Linked DNA regions of Homo sapiens: regions 1 and 2 are each linked to region 3. Evidence: promoter capture Hi-C in 16 types of primary human blood cells and fetal thymus (Javierre and others, 2016). All regions are on one chromosome and are shown on one strand. The core of a region is centred on a gene start or on the middle of the fragment in contact, and the rest is flanking DNA. Distances in the headings are between cores, read along the strand shown.

Region 1 (4,200 bases), core at 1,138-3,637, 610 kb before region 3:
ACATGGAATAGTTGTGAGCAAATATGGGCTTATTCACAATGGGCCATACTCTGTCAGATCTAAACCTTCACCAGTTATATAACTCACCACTGCTTTTTGTGCCACAAGGAAAAAAAAGTGTTGCCAACTAAACCATTGCACAGTGAATTCTTATCACTGAGAATTGTAAATGTATTAATAGAGTTCTTGGCTGGGTGCCATGGTTCATGCCTATAATCCCTTTAGGAGGCTGAGGCAGGAGGACGACTTGAGCCTAGGAGTTTGAGATCAGCCTGGGCAATATGGTGAAACCCCATGTCTACAGAAAACGAAAAATAAAATAAAATAATTAGATAGGCATGGTGGTGCATGCCTGTAGTACCAACTACTTGGGAGGCTGAGTGGGGAGGATCACTGGAGCTCAGGAGGTTGAGGCTGCAGTGAACCAGGATTTTGCCACTGCACTCCAGTCTGGACAGTAGAGCAAGACTCTGTCTCAAACATAAATAAATAAATAAATAAATGGGTTCTTTTATTTAGTCATGTTTTCGTATCCTATATCTCTTGTGCATAAAAATGAAAAGGAACACATAAGCAGTATGAAGAGCTAAGATGTTTTTAAAACTTTTTTGAATGCAGCATCCGCTGCTCCTAAGTCATGTCCCGGCTCACTCAGCCTCACTCACGCCTTCCCACGCGGTATCAGCCTCTGAGCAGCCAAGAGCCAGTTGGCTCCACTGTTGCCCCTGGACTTTTTCAAGCTGCCAACACCCATTCTGTATATTTGGATGCTGATCCTTTGTAAGCTTAACAGAAGGTGTAATAGAGGGTTCCAGAAAGCAATCAAAATCACCTCAACCTCAAATGGTCTGAGTTACTGGGTAGTTGAAAGCCAAAGATTGGGATGTCCAGCTGTGGCACTAGGCGACAAGTCTAGATGACAAGTCGCTGGGCTGTGCATTGAGCTTGTTCTGAATTTCACTCTTACAAACATTCTCACACATGCGGGCAAAAGTCGATCATGATTTCAGATCAACCACAATTACAATCAATTACCAGACACATCCTTATACTAAAGATGTTAAAATGTGAAGAAGAAGGGGAAAAAAAGTACAACTAGTGTTTGATGAATAACCTGGAATGATCAATGGTGATCATTGGTCAACTATTTGCTAGCTGTTGTCTTCTGTGAAAGTATCAGCAAAGGCCAGACCTCTGTTAGGAAATGCAGGCATCATCTAATCTTTGTGAAAGGCAGCTATACAGTTGTCTTTAGTGAGAGGCAGTAACACTTAAAGCAATTTCTGAATGAAATAAGAAATAATAACCATTTAAACGACAGAGCAGAAGCAAGCCATGCTGCGTGAATGTTTCAGAATATTTTTAAAGTCATTAATCAATATGCCTTTTGGGCATGGAATGGTAGTGAGAATGAGATCCAGACTCTGGCTCCAGTCTTATGCTGTGTGGCCTCTTGCAAGCTCCTTCATCTTTCTGGATGCAGTTTTCTTCTGTGTAACATAAGACTCTCAGGTTTATTCCAGATGCAACATTCTACTTTTGATTTTTCAGAAAAAGACCTCATAGCCATTTGCAGTCTGGCCCCTTGCTCAATAGGTCACTTGAAGCTCTTTCTTAAAAGTATGCACCAAAGTATAATAATAAATAAATAAATAAATAAATAAATAAATAGTTACTGAAAAATAAAATAAAATAAAATATTCTAAAAAAAAAAAAGTACGCACCAAACACTTTCTACGCAGGAGGATAATTTCTAATTCAATAGCAGCATCCAGGCCCTCTTCCATGTGGCCTGCTTTGCAATGCAGGGGCACACTTTGAGATAATATTAGGGTATTTCAAAGAACTTTAGAGTGCCTCAAGTTCCACCTTCTTTACAGAACTAGAACTTTGCTTCAATACCCAATCCTTTGTTAAATACTCCTCTGAGAACGTGTTTATGTCTCAGCAACGCAGCCAGTTCAATCAATCACTCAAATGGCTGGACAATTCTTTCCTGCCCAGTTGTCACAAACAATTGGAATAGAACAGGACGTCCAGACATGGACCCAGTAAGAGAGGACAGTGCCCAGCACACACAGCAGAAGGCTCACACTGAGCACCTAAAGACCATTGAAACACACATCGCCTGGTGGAAAATACACAAAGAACATCAACAGATTGTTTAATAAAAAGAAAATGTCATCGGCTCTCAACCATACAGAGGCATACTCAAGCTGATACAAAATAAGAAAAATACAAAATTAAACTCAGTAAAGGTGTATTTTCAACTCTCAATTAGGCAACGATCAAAAAAGCTTAACAACAGCTGCTGACCAGGCCTAGAGGAAACAGGCGTCCGTATACATTGTTGGTGGGAATATAAATTGATAGAGTTTACAGGAAGGGGAATTTGACAATATCTACCAAAATACAAAAGCACGTAACTTGTACCTACCAATTCTACTTCTAAAATTATAAATCACAGAAGCAATTCTCAAGCTTTTTGGTTTTGGCACCACTTTATACTCCAAATCTTACTGAGGCCCCAAAGACTTTTGTTTACATGGGTTACATAGACTGACATTTACATTAAAAATTATAAGTGATGAACTTAAAAGAGATGTATTATATCATAAAATAATAATAATCCCATTGCATAACAATATAAAACACATTTTCATTAAAAGTGGTTATATTTTCCAAAAATATTAGTGAAAACAGGGCATTGTTTCACATTTTTACAAATTGGCCTGGGAGAAGACAACCAGATTCCCAGCTCCACTTCTGCACTCGGCCCTAGTGAGGTGTGGTTTTGGTTGATGTCCCTGGAGGAAATCTGCCTGACTTGGGAATGAAGCTGCAAAAGAAAGCTACTTGCAGGAGAGGTGCGGGACTCGTTTTGGGAAGCTGAGTCTGACAGACAGCCACAGGCATGTGAAACCATGGTATCATTCCCTGAGGTGTTGCTTGTTAACAGCAGAGGACTGGCAACAATCCAAGGGTCCCTCGAAAGGGGGATGATTAAATAAACTACAGCCCATTTGTAAGAATGGAATTCTATGCAACTATTAAAATGAATGATGTAGTGTATTAAGTACCGTTATGTGGAAATGAAAGATTTATCGATAAGCATAAAGTAAAAAATAATCTGCCGAGCCTATTTATATAAATATATAGTTTATATAAATATATAGTGTATATAAAATACATCTGGAAGGAAACGCAGTAAAGCATTATTGATAGTTACTTTCCCAGAAGGGATGGGGGCCTTCACATTAGGGCATCGGCAGGCTCACTTTTCATTTTACATCTTTTGTAGCTTTTGAATTTTCTACCATGTGTATATGTTATCAAGCCAAAATTAATTAATCAATCACTGTAAATACAAATTTATAACCTATTCTGAAGACAAAATGAATTAATGCATGACAAAATGCCTGGCCCTTTGTAGATATTCAATAAATGTTAGCTGTTCTAGTTAATAATTTTATTATTATTATTAAATCATAGAATAACTCTAGTTTGGGTTATGTTTAGTCTCCAGTCTTCCACTACCTGGGTCACCCTTATAAGTGCTACAACCCCTGACGGTCTCTCCTGAAAGTAGTTCCAGGTCTGGTCTGAACGCCACAGCACAATAGAACAGCCTCAGAAACCAGTTTAGGTTTTATTTTTGGGCGTTAAATATTTCCTGTAACCATATTTTGTTAGTCTAGTCATTATCGAAACAGTACCTTTGCCTTCCCCTATGGGTTCGATTAATTTCCCTTAGAGAAACCCTTCCAACACCTGGAGTCTTCACGCCTCCCCGTGTGCTTGGATCGGGAGCACAGAGTGAAGCTCTGATGCTCCCCGTGCTCCCTCATTCTACGTGTGCTCATTTTCCTCTAAGGATTTATTCCCACCTCGGGTTTTAAAATACCTCCCACATATACTTCCTAGATTTGTGCTTACAAACCAAGTCATCAATAAATGTTATTTGTTTGATGTGTAATAATTCACTTTTCTATTTCACTTTGCCTTAGACTCACAAGATTTTAGACAACACCCATAATTCCTTCTCCACATTACTCAGTAATCACAATCTAAATCTAAGATTCAATCTATTTAGGAAAAATACCACACACAAAAAATTCAAAATCATTTTGTTTCATGTTTTAAACAGCTAAAGTAGAAATAAGCATTTGACAAGCACGACTATAAACTGCAATGTGGTGG
Region 2 (3,829 bases), core at 644-3,143, 640 kb before region 3:
AGCTGGTTGAAGAACAATGTGAAAAAAATGAGGCCTGACTCAATTCCTAAAAGCGGCTGCCTGACCTTATGCAAGCCACAGCTTCTATTTACAAACCCAGGAAACTGGACAAAATACTGAAAGGATCCCCTAAGATAATGAGAGTTAACAACAGATGCAAAGCAAGGTTCTGTGGAAATGTAAGGTCGTGTTACCACGCAGGGCTGAAAAGCTTTCCTGACTACTTTCTGATTTGCGTATACTAAGGACTATTTCAAGAGGGTGACATTTTATGAATTAAAGGCATGCCACTTCCATTCACAGTGCTGTTCTGAGAGATTCGATTCTGTCCTTGACAATCTAAGAAAATCTTAACTCTGCATTATGTAAATACTAAGGACACGGGGTGTTTCGAATGAGACCAACCTCGTATCTCTCTCAACTCCCTCTCCTCCCGGGGCCACCCTTTTCTTTAATTGAAAGCACAATAAACTTAATCAGCTGCTCCTAACGATGCCTGCCCCAGCCTGGGAGATTCAGCAAGGCTTGGGGCGTGCATGACAAAGAAACACACACTCCAGAATCTCACTTTTGTTATTCCCCAGCCATCTTTTGTTATGTGGCATGGGAAAAATCTTAATGAGCCTGCCCTGCTGCTGCAGAAATTCTTGTCAGATGAAAAGCAGCCCCTCCTTCCACCTGGCAAGGGCTTACAGAGAACACAGCAGCCCACATCTACTCACGTTTCCTGAAACAATCCCCTATTTAACTTCCTAGGCAACAGAAAATCTGAAGAAAATGAGATACCACAGAAGATGAATTTGATGTAACAAAAAGGTGTTTTAAAAAGATAAGTAGAGAGGCCATCCTACAAAATTTCATGGCTGACAATGGTAAAAAAGATGCAGAAAAGGACCATCTGGCCTGAAAAATTCAGCCGGGGTCGGGGGAGGGGGTCCCGCAGCAGAGGCCAGGCCTTCAAGGATGGGGATCCTCTTCTGTCTTCCTTTTCTCAAAATGTTTGTTGGATGATGGACTTAATTTTAAAACCCCAAGTCACTGCGGTTTAGCCAGCTATGGATGATGAAAGCACTACAATCATTGAAACTGACAAGGAGGCAGTTTCCTTCAAAAATACGAAAACTGTACGCAGAGTACATGGAGAAAAATGTGACACAAGCATTTGGACACACTACTAAACAACAACATGGGACAATATAGACAACAATTGGAAATACACTTTGAGGAGGTAAAAAGTTCAGTATTCACTGGCTTCCTTTTGGAGGTTGTTAAATTGCTGAAATTCAAATAAAAGTCATTGAGCCATTGTGTCTGTCAGCTGTGCCTCTATCTCACCCCCGGGTGGGTGGAGGTCCCCCTGGCTTTATTCTCTGTGTTGTTGCTGCAGATCCAGATTCAGGATTCCGCCCTGAAGGTCTGCGTTCCCTCCCGAGACAGCCTCTGTTTCAAAATGCACAGCCATTCTTGACAGACAAGAAAGGGATGTTGAAAAACAAGTCATGCTTTGGATTCGTGTGGCTTTGAGATACAGAACGAATGAATTATTTCCTGCCTGGCCCAGAACACTTTGCCTCGGTACAGGAGTGTCAAGGCAGAGTGGGTGGGGAAGATGAAGGGTGAGGGAAGCAATTGCAATTAAAATCCATAAGGAGCCGGAGAAGGTGGTGCTCATAGATGGATCCCCTAACTGAGTTTAGAGGGCACAGGAGGAGGCGAAGGGAAGCAGTCTTTCATATATGTGACTTAGGAAATATATAAGGATTGTGTATTTTACGGCACTTATGAGATGGGATAATTCCTTGACTCTTTCATGGGTAGGAACTGGAGTGCACCTCTGGGTCCAGTTGGCCACTTCAGCACTAGCAGGGACGAACTTCAATCACTTGAACCTGCTGGACTCAACCCCTCATGGGAGGGAGCACATAGGCGAGTGGGTGCTGGGACCCTGGCAAGGGCTTTTGGGCTCCAGACCCACAGCAGCATCTAGGGTTGCATTACAATTAATGCTCTTTTAGCTTTGCCGTCCACAGATGGCTTAAGTGTTAAACAGCTCAGTGAAGAGTCAGTGTGACAGCCTTTATGGGTTCCCACATCCAGTGCATGCTGAATTCTTGTCCAGCGTCCAGGAAGAATCGGGCCACACAAATGGTTTGAAAGGTGATGAATGCAGAGGATTTTATTAAGTGGTGGAAGTGGCTCTCAGCAGAAGGGGAGCTGGAAGTGGGATGGAGCAGGGAGAAGGTTATCTTTCCCTGAAGCCCGGCCATCTGCAGCCAGGCTCCTCTCTGAAGCTGTGCCGTCTGAAGTTAAGCCACATCTATCCATAGTCTCTGATGCTCAGCTGCTTCTTCTCTCAACGTTCAGCCACTTGTCTCTTTGCCAGCTGAGGCCTGGGGTTTATATAGGCACAGGATAGGGGGTGGGGTGGGCCAAAAGGTAACATTTGGGCAAGAAAACAGGGATAACTGTTCTCATTTAGGGCTATGGTTTCCAGGCTTGAGGGTGGTGACTTGCCAGGGAACTGCCCTCTTCTGCCCAGTATTTCCCTGCCTCCTGTCCATATCAATTTGATATTTTTTGTGACACAGGTAGATAATTATCATAATCTGAAAAATAGCTTTCCATTGCAGGGGAAAGGGTTTGAGGTTCTGTCAACAACCCATGGACCTCTGGTCTATAGAATGAACAAAGAAATAATGTCATATAGATAAGCTACCTTGAGCCTTCTGGCAATTTCAGACTGTTTATAAATGTCTTGCTAAACTGTGAGGCCTACAAGGACGTAGGCTATGCCCGTCTTGCCTGCCATTACTTACCCAGCCTGGCACACAGCAAACACTCCGGTAATAGTGGTCACGCCAAAAAGTTATGACCACTTGGTGTCACTCAGCTTCCAGACTTTGTTACCTTACCAAGCCCGCTCCCACCTTCTGCTAACCTCCTGACCTTCGGAAGAAACCACCAATTCTGCAGTGGGCTCTGCACGCTCCCCAACTCTCAGCAGCAGTGTTGGTTAAACGAGTGAACATTCTGGTCTCTTCTATGAGCAGACCCAGGGGGTCAGCTGAGTCTCAAGTGTACACAAGGAGAAAGACATCCATGGGATAGCAGGGAGTTAGTGACACCAGCGCCCACAGGGCATCATGAACTCCACCTGGAGTCAACTCAGTGCTCTGCTGTCAAACTCCCCACAAGAAATGACAAGTTTGTGTCCTACAGCATCAATGCAAGGAGCCTGGCACCTACCAGGCAATTTCCAGCTGTCACTCATAGCTCAGCTCCTTGTAAATCTACTGCTAATGAGTTTATCTTGATTCTTCATGGACCTATTTAAGAATTCAGCTCTTCAATTTCATGGGGTATTTGCTGAGAGCAACAGACACTAGGAGAGGCCATGGTCTCTACTTCTTGCAGGAATTCTCTTAGGTTTTCTGCAAAGTGGGGAGCAGGGCTTGCCCTGTCTACTTCAGCCATACCCAGATAGCTTCCATCTCCCTTTGTGAGGCCAAAGGTTTTATCCTACCTGCATATGGAAAATCATTTTCCCTTTAAGTTTGCGGGTGCTTTTTGCCCAGATAAGCTTGCCTCAGGGTCCGGAGATGCTGCTCTTTATCACAGTTACTGGGTCCCATCTCCCCTCTCTGGGAAGCCCCTCATCTTCTCATGCAGATCTCACCAGAACTTGATTCCTGCAGGGGCTCCCTGCTGCACCAGCCCCACCGTCCCCAGCACCCAGCGTGTCTCCACCTGCGTGATTCGGTGAAGGCCCATCTCCTCCCAGGCTCAGACTCACAGTGGCAGAAACCATGGCTGGTTTTGAAGACAGATT
Region 3 (3,916 bases), core at 896-3,395:
GCAGACTCAGATGCATGCACACCCCAACAGAGGGTTGCTGTCCTACTGCAGACAGAGATGTGTGCACACACCAACAGAGGGTTCCTCTCCTACTGCAGACACAGATGCATGCACATCTGATAGAGGGTTCCTCTCCTACTGCAGACACAGATGTGTGCACACCTCAATAGGGGGTTTCTGTCCAACTGCAGACACAGATGTGCACACACTCCGATGGGGGGGGGTTCTTGTCTAACTGCAGACATAGACGACTGCAAACCCCAATGAGGGGTTCCTGTCCAACTGCAGACACAGATGTGCACACACCCTGTGGGGGGGTTCCTGTCTAACTGCAGACATAGATGACTGCACAACCCAGTGAGGGGTTCCTGTCCAACTGCAGACACAGATGTGCACACACCCTGTGGGGGGGTTCCTGTCTAACTGCAGACATAGATGACTGCACAACCCAGTGAGGGGTTCCTGTCCAACTGCAGACACAGATGTGCGCACACCCCGATAGGAAGTGGCTCTGTGGTTGCCAACTTGCCAGGCCCAGCAGGGGCCACAGGAGTTGCAGAGGCACTTCAGGGAGCTCCGTCAAAAGCAGATGAGCACGATTCACCTGTTCAGAACAGGCGGTTCACTATGTTCTAGCTGCATGATCCCTCAGTTAAAATCTTACCGTGAAGTTCCGTGCAAGAAACCTAAAAGTTCCAGCTCTTATGGGGTAGGGGGCCAAAGCCCCAGCATCTTCCCCACAACAGGTCCTCTTATGACCCCTCCCCCAGCCCGAGGCACTGCTGGGGACCCCAGGAAACTACAGGACATCCCCCATTAGCTCAACTCCAGCTTCTCGTTGCTGGGTGGGGACACAGAGTCTTGGGGAAGATTTTGCCACAAACATAGATGTGGGCGTTTACGTAAACACAGAACTCTATCCCGAAGCAGACAAGAGACTCCCAGATTCCCAGGGGACTTGAACCAGGATATTACTAGCAAGTCATACTCCATTCCAGGTAGCAATGATACATTAGCTATGCAGAAAGTCATCGTTCTTCAACAAACCACTCTCATTTTAATTGCCACATTTTCATTATCCACATTAATCATTAAAATGAAAGTACCATCTCAACTCCTGTCGCCATGAACTCAACTAAAACAGGTAGACAAAATGGGGGAAAGGGAAAAGAAAAGGAAATAGAGAAGCATAGAGATGGTGACGTCTGAACACAAGACAGGAGCTGCTCCTTGGAAACCGGCTTCCTGGCGCTCTTCCCTCAGCGCTCCCTCCCGGGAAGGATGTGCTGAACCATAAACTTATTTCTCACAGCAACGTCTATCAGGGATGTTTCCTTCACAGGCCCAGTGAAAGGGCTGGCCCTTGACACCTCACAGACACCTGGCCTAAGCAGAGTGAGGCGGTCCAGGGACTTTCCATACACAGGCTGTGTCCTGAGGCTCTGCTCACCCCATACCCCTGCTCACCCCCACGGCCCTGCTCACCCCCACGGCTCTGCTCACCCTCACAGCCCTGCTCACCCCCACGGCTCTGCTCACCCTCACGGCCCTGCTCACCCCCACAGCCTTGCTCACCCCCACGGCCACCCAGGGCCCTGCTCACCCCCATGGCTCTGCTCACCCCCACAGCCCTGCTCACCCCTATGGCCACCCAGGGCCCTCCTCACCCCCATGGCTCTGTTTACTCCCAAGGCCATCCAGGGCCCTGCTCACCCCCACGGCCACCCAGGGCCCTGCTCACCCCCACGGCCACCCGGAGCCCTGCTCACCCCCACAGCTCTGTTTACCCCCACGGCCACCCAGGGCCCTGCTCACCCCCACGGCCAGCCGCAGTTGCTCCCGGCTGGGCAGCAGCACGAGGACATCCCTGTGTTCCGAGGCCATCGCGTCCATTCCCAGGGTCGGCTCCTGCTGACTGCATGCAGGCCTCTCAGGACTGGGTTCCATACATCGCGCCCCTGAAGGAGGGAACGTGTCAGGGTTTGTCCGGGCGGGGTCTATGCCCCTCCCTCTCGGGGGCACCGCCATGCTGTCGTTACTCGGCCCTCCCCCGCCATGGGTCGCAGGTGGGTGCTCAGCACCTCCCAGATCACAGCTGTGCTTTCCGGGACCCGCCCTTGCCGAGCTTCTCACTGGGAAGGGAATTGAGAGGGAAGCCTGGGCTGGGAATCCAGCATGGCCAAGCCAGGACAAGGGTCAGAGCTGCAAATAGCTGGGTGTGTGGAGGGCGCCAGGAATGCAAATAAACAACCTCAGGCTGGGCACCCGCCATGCAGCACTCCCATGCAGGGTAGCTCAGCAGCCAGCCTCGGTGTGGGCCCCGTGAGAACCAGGCTGGGGGAGACAGGACCCAACTCCTCCACCTGACAACCCCTATCTCCTCAGGGTGCCTGCTCCTTCTTCTATAATGTGGAGAGGGCTATGCAAACCCCATGGGCACAGATGCCAGAGCCAGGGCTGCTGGGGAAGATGGAGCAGCAGCAGGGCAGGACGAGGAGGGCGGGAGGAAGGCAGCCTGGGTGGGCACCCTGCCCCACACACCTCCTGTGGCATCTGTTATCGACCTCAGGAAGCAGCACAGCTGCCGTTCCTGGACAGGTTCTGCCAGGAGGGACCCTGGCTCCCTTTAGGGGCTGGAAACTGAGGACACTTCCTTCCTTGTCCAGGGCCAGCAAATCCCTTCCTGCCTGCAGCAGCTGGAAGGCCAGGAAGGGGGTCCTGGCTTGCGTGGACAGCAGCCGGGTGCATCAGCACGAGGGGTGGGGACATCTCCCGCAGGGCCTGGAACCCCTGAGGCCGCTCAGCAGAGATGAGCAACGCCTTCGAGCTCTTTGGCACAGTGTTAGGTGGGGAAGGGACCCCAGGATCCTGCCTGGCCCTGGGACCACCCAGACCTTTGGGCGCTGCAGGTCAGGAGAGGCAGTTCCCACGGGCCTGGGCTGTGGAATTCTGTCCTCAGCCGTGAGCTCCATCAGTTTCCTGCCATGGAGTCTGGGATGCTCTGGGACCTTCCTCTAGTAAGGGGTCTGGACCTCCGGACGGGCCGTTGTTCATCTTAGGAAATTCGCACTCCAGCCGCCTTAAGGCCTGGCCCGGTGGGTTTAGGAAATTCGCACTCCAGCCGCCCTAAGGCCCGGCCCGGTGGGTTGAGAAGATTTAGGAGGCTTAGGCCTCACCTCCCCCGGACCCTGGACTGACACTGGCTCCCTCCCTCCCTCCCTCCGCTCAGATCCAGACCCTTCCCAGACCCTCGAGGCCACACATGTGTGCCCAAGACAGCAGTGGCGGTCTCTTTTCTCTCCACAGCAAACGTAGAGCTGTTCACTATGGAAGATGTGGGGATCCCTTTAGCTGAGAGCACAAAAAGTTTTAAAAATGGCAAAAAAACCACAAAAAAAAACAGCCCCAGAGAGCAGAGGCTGGATCCTCATGGCCCTGTGCCACTGGCGCCTGAGCAGCTCGTCCCTGTGCCGGGTGCCCTCAGCCGCTGCCTGGAGTCACAGTGCCGGCGTATCAGGAAGGGCGGCAGCAGCTGCACCTCTCAGGATGCCTGGGCGCAGGACAGTGGCAGAGGGCAGGCAGGGGCCAGGGTTGGGGGGTGGCAGAACACCACCGGCACACACAGCACAGAGGGGACAACAGGCACCAGGACCCCTCGGTGGGGAGAGCCGGGGACACGGTGGGGAGTTGTGCTGGGTGCACTAATGATCAAAGCGATGGTTCCCCACGTGTGTGCAGGTGCTGGTGTGTGCGGGCGCTGGTTTGTGCGGGCGCTGGTGTGTGTGGGCGCTGGTGTGTGCGGGTGCTGGTGTGTGTGGGCGCTGGTGTGTGTGGGCGCTGGTGTGTACAGGTGACCGTGGGCCAATGAGCTCCAAACATCATTAGTGAGAAGAAAAGGAAAAGGAATGGAAACTCC

Evidence for each region. Contacts are between HindIII fragments. The CHiCAGO score rates a contact against its expected background, and 5 or more counts as called.
Region 1: a fragment that was not itself captured here is called in contact with the fragment with the promoter of FRMD1 in region 3 in 2 of 17 cell types (M0 macrophages and M1 macrophages); the score reaches 6.5 in M0 macrophages.
Region 2: a contact is called between a fragment that was not itself captured here and the fragment with the promoter of FRMD1 in region 3, in 1 of 17 cell types (monocytes). The highest score is 5.1, in monocytes.

Annotation. Positions count from the first base shown.
Region 1 is chr6:167,463,661-167,467,860 of GRCh38, forward strand. The region is part of intron 1 of LOC105378127 (a long non-coding RNA gene); the gene reads right to left. Among named protein-coding and RNA genes, the nearest start is that of TTLL2, 140 kb to the left of the region's middle. The HindIII fragment of the contact is 184 bases long and covers 2,296-2,479 here.
Region 2 is chr6:167,441,909-167,445,737 of GRCh38, forward strand. No RefSeq gene overlaps it. Among named protein-coding and RNA genes, the nearest start is that of TTLL2, 120 kb to the left of the region's middle. RefSeq lists enhancers at 1-755, 756-1,625. The HindIII fragment of the contact is 3,369 bases long and covers 210-3,578 here.
Region 3 is chr6:168,077,067-168,080,982 of GRCh38, forward strand. It overlaps FRMD1 (FERM domain containing 1), which reads right to left and starts at 2,146. Exons shown (of 11, transcript NM_024919.6): 1 at 1,816-2,146. The coding sequence starts at 2,028. RefSeq lists an enhancer at 1,137-1,858. The HindIII fragment of the contact is 11,905 bases long and covers 1-3,916 here.